Linked DNA regions of Homo sapiens: region 2 is linked to region 1. The links are contacts of gene promoters, found by promoter capture Hi-C in human tissues and cell types (Jung and others, 2019). All regions are on one chromosome and are shown on one strand. The core of a region is centred on a gene start or on the middle of the fragment in contact, and the rest is flanking DNA. Distances in the headings are between cores, read along the strand shown.

Region 1 (5,186 bases), core at 795-3,294:
GGGTTTCCCCATGTTGGCCAGGCTGGTTTCAAACTCCTGCCCACCTCCGCCTCCCAAAGTGCTGGGATTACAGGCATGAGCCACTGTGCCTGGCCATATCCAGCATCTTAGAAGAGTCCTTTGTTCTCTTTCCCAGTTAGTTCTCCTCAAGGATAACCACTCCCCACACCCAGCTTTTTTTTTTTTTTTTTTTTTTTGAGACAAGGTCTCACTCTGTCACCCAGAGTAGAATATGGTGGTGTAATCACAGCTCACCGCAGCTTCCACCTCCTGGTCTCAAACTCCTGGGCTCAAGCGATCTGAGCACCTCGGCCTCCCAATAGTGTTGGGATTAGGCATGAGCCACTGCGCCCGGCCTACGTGCCGTTTTAAAATGATGTTCAAGAATAAGCAAAACCAACCTATGGTGGTAAAAGAACAGTGATCGCCTCTGTTTTCTTTTGCCTGAGGGAAACTCTGGTGTGCTGAAAATGTTCTGTATCTGAAGTGGTGGTGGTCACATAAGCTGTACATCTAAGATATTTGCACGTTGCTGTGTGTAAACCATAATTCCAACAACAACAACGACAAAATGGCAAGGTGGGGCTCGGTGGCTCACGCCTGTAATCCCAACACTTGGGGAGAACTAGGCGGGAGGATCGCTTGAGGCCAGGAGTTAGAGACCAGCCTGGGCAACATAGGGAAACCCGGTATCTACAAAACAACAATAGCAACAATTCGCTGGGGCGGGGGGGGGGGGGGGGGGGCGCCGCCTGTTGTTCCAGCTACTCAGCTACTCCAGAGGCCCAGGCGGCAGGATCGCTTGAGGCCAGGAGTTCTTGGCTACACTGAGCCGAGATCCCGCTACTGCACTCCAGTCTGTCAGATCCTGTATGGAAAAAAAAAAAAAAAGACAAAATAGTTAAACTATGCCTTTAATTCAATAAACTATTAAACTAACAATACCATGAAGAAAATCAGAATAAAGAAGAAAGATAGGCTGACGCAGGAGAATCGCTGGAACGGTGAGGCGGAGGTTGCGTGAACCGAGATCGCGCCACTGCACTCCAGCCTGGCGACAGAGTGAGACTCCAAAAAAGAAAAAAAAAAAAAAAAAAAAAAGAAAGATAGGCTGGGCCCGGTGGCTCAGGCCTGTAATCCCAGCGCTTTGGGAGGCCGAGGCGGATGGATCACCTGAGGTCGGGAGTATTCGGCACCAGCCTGACCAACATGGTGAAACCCCGTCTCTACTAAAAATACAAAATTAGCCGGGTGTGGTGGCGAATGCCTGTAATCCCAGCTACTCAGGAGGCTGAGGCAGGAGAATCGCTTGAACCTGGGAGGCGGAGGTTGCGGTGAGGCGAGATCGCGTCACTGCACTCCAGCCTGGGCAACAAGAGCGAAACTCGGTCTGAAAAAAGAAGAAGAAGGAGAAGGAGAAGAAGACTATCTGGGTTCCATCAACGATTCTCGTGCCTTTTGTCTTTAAACTTTGGTGCTGCCTTCATCAAAATCATACTAATGAAATTCGACGCGCGGGTCATTCATTTAATTAAAATGAAACCCCAAATCTGTTGACTATTGGTATCCTCATGACACTGTTCTATAATGTGACAGAAAAGACGAAGGTGAAGAACTATGGTTTCGGCCGCTGTTACACAGGAGGTAGCAGGTGGCAGGCCGTTTACACAAATTAGCTCGTTTTTGGAGACGAAGTTACCCCAGGCTGCCCGCTCGGATGAGCCTGCGAATTCAGGCCCAACCCAGGCCCCTCCAGGTCGGGAAGGTACGAAGAGCCCGCTGGATTCACACAGGGCAGGGGCGCCTTCGCAGGTGCGAGTGGATTCTGGGTATCGCGAGCGTAGGCCCAGGCGCAGCCCCTCTGCCTGCGGGACTGAACAGGCAGGTGCGTCCCAGCGGCCGGGCGGGCCGGGTCTCCCTCCTGCGGGCAGGCGCCGCGCTGCGGGGCGCGGCTGGCGGAGCGGGGCAGCCGGGCGCAGCGCCCCCTGGGCCTGAAGACTGGCGGGCGGCGGGGGCGCGCGCAGGCCGGCGGGGGCGCGCCGCGCTGCGAGGCCTGCGCGCCAGGCTGCGGGAGCCATGCGGCGATCGAGGAGCTCTGCGGCCGCCAAGCTGCGCGGGCAGAAGCGGTCCGGGGCCTCCGCGGCCCCCGCGGCCTCCGCGGCCGCTGCCTTGGCACCCAGCGCCACCCGCACACGGCGCTCCGCTAGCCAGGCCGGGAGCAAGAGCCAGGCGGTGGAGAAGCCGCCGTCGGAGAAGCCGCGGCTGAGGCGCTCGTCGCCGCGGGCCCAGGAGGAGGGCCCGGGGGAGCCGCCGCCGCCTGAGCTGGCGTTGCTCCCGCCACCGCCGCCGCCGCCGCCGACTCCCGCGACCCCGACGTCCTCGGCGTCCAACCTGGACCTGGGCGAGCAGCGGGAGCGCTGGGAGACGTTCCAGAAGCGGCAGAAGCTTACCTCCGAGGGTGCCGCCAAGCTCCTGCTAGACACCTTGTGAGTGCGGCGGGCCGGGGGGCGCGGGAGCCGTTGCCACGCGGACCCCCTCGGCAGGAGTCGGGCTCGCAGCCCGCGTGCAGGCCTTGGGCGCCTTTCAGCTCTGAGCCTTCCACGTTACGGAGCCGACGCGGCTCCCCCGTTAGCACTGGGGTTATTCCTTAATTCTAAGGGCGGCGGGGCGGGGCGGTGCTTCTAGGGCTGTGTGGCCTGGGAATGGAAAGGGGGCTTCGTCCGGAGCTTGAGGGCGCGCGCAGCCGTCTTGGGACACAAAGAGTCTTTCCCGGCCATAAGCATCGTGCTCGGGGACGTTGTCTCTTGCTGGCGCGCAAAGGGTGTGGGGGCCTTTCTTAGTGAAAAGAACATAAATCCCACGGCTTTCTCTTACCCGAATCCCCTTTTTTTTTGTGTTTGCACACGTGTTTTTGAGGGTGGGTGGAAGGGAAAGGTAGAAGCGTTGAAGGAAGCATGAATAGTTTTGAACTCACTGGGAAGCAAAATCCCGTCATTGTTCCAGGCACTGCCAGGGAGGGAGCAGGGGGCGGAGGTTATTGATCCGGGAGAGAAGCGCGCGCGAAGAGATGCTCCGGCCTCGCGCGGCGGCGGGGATACCTACGTAGGGAGGCTTTTATGTGCTCAGCCAGCTAATGCTCCCTGCCGCTCGCCCTCCTGGCTGCTCCGCAGTCTTTTAGATGGCCCGAGGAGCATCTCGAGTGTCCGCGATTTGGGAAAGAGCTTTTAACTGGGCTGTTAAAGGGCTGCCTTCTTTTCTCCAAATGCGATCTGGATTCCTGCCTCGGGGAACAGTTGTGCTACAGAGAGATATTTTAACGCCCTGATATTATATTTCAGTGTCAATTTTACGAATTAAAAAGAACAATCAAAACACTAGGGGGAAAAAACCGACAAGAATAACCTAGCAATTGCATAACCTGAGAATTACTTCTTTTCTTGAACATGTTCCTTTGAGCTTCTTGCGGAAGAAATTCTCTTAGGATGAGTCGTCCCCGACAGAAGATACATATTTGGTTTTCTGTGTGCTTCACTTTTTGGTTTTTCATCTTGGACTGCACACTGAATTTTTAAAAAACGTTCATCCATCAAACATTTGAGCACCTATAGGGTGACGGCTGCCTCTGGGCAGAAGGAATACGAAGATCCTTAGGAATGTAAAACTCATGGTGTCTTCAAGGCATACAGAAAAAAAGAAGAATGTAAAACTCAAATTTGAGATAAATTTTTATTTTAAGACAAACTGATAAATGGTCAAGAAAAAGTTTTAAAATATTGACATAAAAAAGCTGTTTTTCTCCCACTAGATTGCCATGACTTTGTACTTATAAAGTCTACTAAATTATATTCAAAAAGTGTGTATAACTGTACCATTTTCGTTAAAATATTGTGTAGAAAAAAGTTTGGGGGAATATATAACAAATAATTAACTGTAGATCCCTCTGGGTGTAAAGATTACAGGAGGCTTTCACTTTGAGCACTCTCAAATAGTGTGAAGTTTGGAGTTTTTACAATAAGCATTATGTGTGCAGAAAAAATTAAAATACATAAACGTAAAGAAACATGAAAAAATGATCAGTCTTAATCATGCAAATTAAAACTGCAGTGAGCTATTTTTCCTATAATTATTGCCTGAGACTGTACAGTGAAATGTTTTCTCATTTATTTATCGGGTAAGGGTGTTCAATCCTTTTGGAAAGCGATTTTAAGACATTTATCAGATCTTAATGTTCATTTCTGAGTTTGGCTTATATATAAGCTTTAAAGGGTTAAAATTGTATGTAGGCTGGGTGAGGTGGCTCATGCCTGTAATCCCAGCACTTTGGGAGGCCGAGGCGGGTGGATCACCTGAGGTGGGGAGTTTGAGACTGCCTGACCAACATGGAGAAACCCCGTCTCTACTAAAAATACAAAATTAGCTGGGTGTGGTGGTGGGCGCCTGTAATCCCAGCTACTCGGGAGGCTGAGGCAGGAGAATCATTTGAACCCTGGAGGTGGAGGTTGCGGTGGGCTGAAATCGCGTCACTGCACTCCAGCCTGGGCAACAAGAATGAAACTCCCTCTCAAAAAAAAAAAATTCTATGTAATGTGTATTACAACTATGTAAAACGCATGTGTATGAAGAATACTGGAAAGAAATAGAGCAAAAATATAAGAGCCTTTATTAAGTTTCTCAAAAGGCTCTTCTGGACCTCTGGACTTGATTGAGTACACAGTCTTATTTTTCATAGCAGCCTGTACCTCCTTTATCACAATCATAATTAATTATTATTTGAGTAAATTGTTAAGGTCGGTAAGGGTAGCAATCGTGTCTGCTGTATCTTGTTTAGTGTTCTCTCCTTCGTGCCTAGCTCATAAAAATATTTAGTATTTGAGGCCCGGAGCAGTGGCTCACGCCTGTAATCCCAGCACTTTGGGAGTCCCCGTGGGTGGATCACAAGGTCAGGAGTTCAAGACCAGCTTGGCCAAGATGGTGAAGCCCTATCTCTACTAAAAATACAAAATTAGCAGGGCGCGGTGGCAGGCGCCTGTAATCCCAGCTACTTGGGAGGCTAAGGCTGGAGAATTGCTTCAACCCAGGTGGCAGAGGTTGCAGTGAGCCAAGATCGTGCCACCGTACTCCAGCCTGGGCAATAGACTGAGACTCCATCTCAAAAAAAAAAAAAAAAATTTAGTATTTGACATATA
Region 2 (5,186 bases), core at 1,957-4,456, 190 kb before region 1:
TAGAATTATGTATTTTTATGAGATTAGAGCACTGAAAGTTTTTTAAATCTGTTTTTGTCTTCTTTCCCATAGAGTTTCTTTTTTGTTGTTTGTTTTGTTTTTTGTTTTAAGGAGCAGAGAGTTTAATAGGCAAGAAGGGGCTAGAAGGAAGGGAGAAGGAAGAAAGAAGCAGCTCACCTGTACAGAGACAGGAGAGGGGGCTCCAAAGCCGAAAGAGAAGGTCCCCACCTGCCACGGATACCAGCTAGGTATATATACAGAGGCTGGAGAAGGCAGTGTTTGATTTGCATAGGGCTCAGGGGATTGGTTTGACTAGGCATGTCTTCAAATAGCCAGAGGAAGAGCTGGCCCTCCCACCCATATGCAAATATGGGGCGCCACGATGTTCTACACACGTAGGGATAGGTGGGGGTGGCCATGTTGCCAGGAACATGTGGGGCAAGGGCAAGAAGGCTGTGGGAATTGACATGTTGGGTGGACCCAGTTTCTAATGGCCTGCATTTGCATATCAAAGGTTGATGGCCTGACTGTAAGAGTCGGGGCTTTACAAGAAACTTTTCTGGAGATGCTTTAAAAAACTAAAACTTCCCAAGGACCCCTTTGCCTCTCTGCCTAAAATAATTTCTTAATAACTCCTACCACATTCCTCCCTGTGGTGATATCACACTATCTGCTGTTAGGGGGTTTTGGGCGACGACTCTTTCTGGCTACTTCCTGCTGAAAAGGGGCGTCAAATGGGGAACAGCAGTGAGGGCTCCTCCTAGGGTCAACTTAAGGGTCCTCGGGAGAATGGCGTGTCCATATGTGGTTCAGTTTGCAGTACCATTTGGAGTTTGACTGCTTTGAGGCGAGAAGAAACAGTTCGAGTTATGGTACTGAGTATACAGGGTCCAAATATCAATACAAGACATATAAGCAGGAGAGGGCTTGATAAAGGGGCTGACCAATTCCATAAAGAAGATTGGAATTCATTAAAGAGGGATTGTAGCCATCCAGGGCTGGAGCCGGCATTTTCCCTGAGCCTGTTAATAATTTTGATTTCATTCTTAAGTACCTGTAGATTTTCCTCTACTAGAGGTGTTAATCATTACTAAACCCAATAAAAAGTGCTAGCAGACTCAGTGATAGTAAAACTTTCATGCTTCCTTTTTGTCAGTAACTATTATCCCTGCTATAAGGATAATAATTGAGCAAAATACAACAGCAATGGAAACTCTGTCCAATATGTCAGTTAGAAGGTGCTACCACGTATAACCCTCTTGCAAATAGCAGAGTGAGTATAGCAACTTCCACAAGTGTGATGTAGTAGATAACTTCCATGTAAAATTTTACTTGCCAAGATACAGAATTTTCCTTTGGTGGTCTATGAAGCCTTGGTTTTATTTTCCCAAACAAAAAAAAAAAAAAACCTGAGTTAATGGGCATCATACTCACTTTCATTAACTGGCAGAATTTGCAGGATAATTGCCCAGAACTAGCATATTGATTCAGATTTTTACATTACCCATCCCTTTTTATTTCTTCCAAACTGTAGGGGATTACCACTTGATTCACAGGAATAAGCAGAGTTAGTATAATATGTAGGCAAAAAGCTTAAAAACAATTGATGAGACTAGGATTTAATGAGAAATGTATAGTAAGTTTTGGAGAAATGTATGATAAGCTTTGGAGCACAGTTTTTCTCTCCAGTCCTCATTTTTGATAAAAACAAATTATGATAGGCCCGTGTGTGTTGTCTGTAGAATAAACTTTAGTCCTATACATGGCCTGATTGTTTGCATAAAGTGCAGCAAGAAAGGTTATTTCTACACAGGCCTTTTGGATTGGCTTCGATGAAACTGTTCTACAAGGAATCTCAGATAAGACCTTTTAAAGCCAAGCCCAGCCATGGGTTTGTATCCTCAAATACCTGTGAGTTGGGTGATCCTCTCCTCTTGAGGCCCCAAGATAAACTCGGAGCTCCCAGACCTATTAGAAAGTGACACTCTTTACTGACCACAGGTTAGGAATCTTGTGCAGGGACTGTGCAGACAAGGTATGAGGCCAGTTCTCCCCAAGGGGCTTTTATTTGCTCTGCATGTCAAGCTTGATTCCTTAAAAGGAAACACACCCTCAAGCCTTGGTTAAAATAACCAGTTTTTCCAATGTGTCCTGTTGACAAAGAAAAATGGATTCTTATTGCACTGATGCAAAGAGCTATATTGCCGTTAAGTTAAGAGTACAGCTAGTCTCCAAATTCTAGAGGAACCAGGCAGAGACAAATAAATATGCTCCAAATTTTGTTCACAGGAGTATACCTTACTCAATTATTAAAGGCCATAAATAGTTTAAAACTTTTCTTGACTCTGAAAAACAAAACAAGGATCAGCAATATTCCAAGCAAAGTTAAAAACTCTGCTTTAACTTTCTGAGTGCAGTCCATTTACTTAACTCTTGTTTTGCTTGATATTTATGAACATATTAGTTCTTTGTGAGTCCCATACATTCTCTCTCTATTCCAATGTTACAATCTTTAAAGCTATTAAAAACCTGCATTTGAGAACACCTGTTGAACTCCTTAATAGAGCTTGATTATAAACCATTTTTTGAAAAGGAACAAAGCAGGACAACAATTGTCTGTGAATGACAAAATTTTCAGGATAGTTAAAAACATGACTGACAAAGAAGTTTATTTATCTTCATGGTTTACAATAACTTTACCCTTAATTATGATTGATAGCATATACTTAGACATTAGAATCTTAGAAATCCCATACAATTCTGAAACATATATTAGTATTATTCACCAAACTATAACTTAAATAAGATTGGACATCATTTTGGCAATCTCATGTGACTAAACATGTCAAATAATCCTGTTTACCTCTTTTCTGAATGTTTCAGGGCCCCTCTAAACCATTCAAAAAGTTAGGTATCAGGAAGGACAATTTCCAGATTGCCATAAATTATTTTGCCAAAATGATGACTCAAAAGGCAAAATCCTTTCATTAGCCTTTATTATGAAATGAAAATCTTGTTCAAAGCAAAATTTTACCCTTGCATTAGTTTATTAATGTTAACCCCAATTTGTTTACACGAAACCTTATAGATTATTCCATCAAATCCTAACCAATTTGACCATGAGGTGAAATCTTTTTTTTTCTTTTTTTTTTGAGATGGAGTTTCATTCTTGTTGCACAGGCTAGAGTGCAAGGGCATGATCTCAGCTCACTGCAACCTCCGCCTCCCAGGTTCAAGCGATTCTCCTGCCTCAGCCTCCCAAGTAGCTGGGATTACAGGCATGTGCCACCACCCCTGGCTAATTTTGTATTTTTAGTAGAAACGGGGCTTCTCCATGTTTGTCAGCCTGGTCTCGAACTCCCGACCTCAGGTGATCTGCCCGCCTCGGCCTCCCAAAGTGCTGGGGTTACAGGTGTGAGCCACCGCACCCGGCCAAGGTGAAATCTTTACAAACCTTTTATAACCCTTTTACTAAGGGGCAGATTAGTGTCTTAAGACCTCCTTGCTATGCTTTTATTTTAATGCTTAATTTATGAAAAGACCATATAGATACTATGGGAGAGGACGGTGTAGTGCTTCTACCATGCATTGCATTGCAAGGCAGCCCAAAGCCAATTGGCTTATTTTGTAATTAGCCCATCCCTGATGGGAGTCTCATCTCCCAGTGCAGGGTGAGGATGTTTCCTTATCTTCCAGGTGGCCAAGAGCATCCCTGATTTATAACTACTATTAGCCATCCCTTACAGTGTATTTTCTACTTGATTATTACACACCAAAGCTTTCTTGTAAAAATGCGAAGTAATTTCTGATACCCCCAAAACTCAAAACCATCAGATAACACAATGCAAAACAGAACAGAGCCTTTGATTTTGAGAGGGAATTATTTGCTTTTAATTCCTGGGGTTTCATGAGGAAAACAGAGGGTTTTTTCCCAAAACGGGGTCTGTGGCGCCTCCTCTGTGTTTCCTGAGGAGTCCCATGCTACCAGAAGTTATCTTAGGGCCTTTTATACATGCATTAAGAGTAGTAAGACAAAAAATGGAGAAAAATAATTCAGTCGGCTGAGATGAGCCTTTTTCCAGAAAAACAAGATTCAAGAAAAGAAAAAACATAAAGGCCTTTTAATATACCTATAACTTGATTTTCCACTTTTAATTAAGCTGAGCACTCTTTAAGAAAATTCTTCTAAATCCTTTGTTACTTGACCTTAGCCATGCCAAGCAGTTAAGATTTTTGGCTTTTGAACTTTACAATAAGTAACCTCACAGGTAAAACTAAAGAGCTTTAATTAGGTTATGACTTAACCAGGAGTGTAAAAGGTATTTTTAAAGGAGTGACAGGCAGCTTTTTTTTTTTTTTTTTTTTTTTGCTGAGACAGAGTCTTGCTCTGTCACCCAGGCTGGAGTGCAGTAGCATGATCTTGGCTCACTGCAACCTCTGCCTCCTGGGTTCAAGCAATTCCTCTGCCTCAGCTTCCTGAGTAGCCAGGACTACAGGTGCATGCCACCACGCCTGGCTAATTTTTGTTTTTTTAGTAGAGACAGGGTTTCGTCATGTTGACTAGGCTGGTCTTGAACTCCTGACCTCGTGATCCACCCGGACAGGCAGCTTTTGAAACTGTCACTGCAAAATTGTGACTGAGACAGTGGAAGAGATCTCACCCAAACAACTCCATTTTGTTTCCAGTCCCCAAACTGTCCTTGCCCATCCCCGGGCATAGGCTGAATCAAGTTGGGGAGGAGCTTGGTTTACAGTTTATAGTCTAAAACAAAGAAGATAGCAGCTGCTTCTCAAGATATACTTCCCTTTTGCCTGGGGACCAGACCAAGAAACTAGCTACAGGATTAGAAACCATGGCCCAAGAGCCATGCAATTGGAGGCTACAAGATTTTGACCCTCCCTAAACGGCTGTTATGATCAGTGCTTAAGATGTTTTGTAAACCCTGCCCTTGATGGATCAGCTGACACAGCCCAGACTGACAAACTGGCTTATCTGATTTAGCACAAGAAGACAGCCACCATTGTAAAATGGCGGAGACAAAAACAAAGTATTGCCACATGGTTACAGATTATGTTCCCATGACATGAAACAAGATGGAGGCCTGTAGCCAAGTTTGCCACTGGATACTTTGCTGGGCTGGTTTGAACAGCAGGCTTATGGGTTTCTGGGCCTGCATCCTGACCTA

Evidence for each region. The method cuts DNA at HindIII sites, captures the fragments that hold promoters and counts their contacts. A contact is called where the count stands out against the background at its distance.
Region 2: a fragment that was not itself captured here is called in contact with the fragment with the promoter of CENPV in region 1 in 1 of the 25 tissues and cell types used here (psoas muscle).

What each region holds. Positions count from the first base shown.
Region 1 is chr17:16,350,327-16,355,512 of GRCh38, reverse strand. CENPV (centromere protein V) reads left to right here and starts at 2,044. Exons shown (of 5, transcript NM_181716.3): 1 at 2,044-2,486. The coding sequence starts at 2,077. RefSeq lists silencers at 1,835-1,984, 2,045-2,654. The HindIII fragment of the contact is 38,840 bases long and covers 1-3,351 here.
Region 2 is chr17:16,541,544-16,546,729 of GRCh38, reverse strand. It overlaps LOC105371554 (a long non-coding RNA gene), which reads right to left. Exons shown (of 4, transcript XR_007065637.1): 4 at 2,644-5,186. Among named protein-coding and RNA genes, the nearest start is that of ZNF287, 25 kb to the left of the region's middle. The HindIII fragment of the contact is 3,155 bases long and covers 1,629-4,783 here.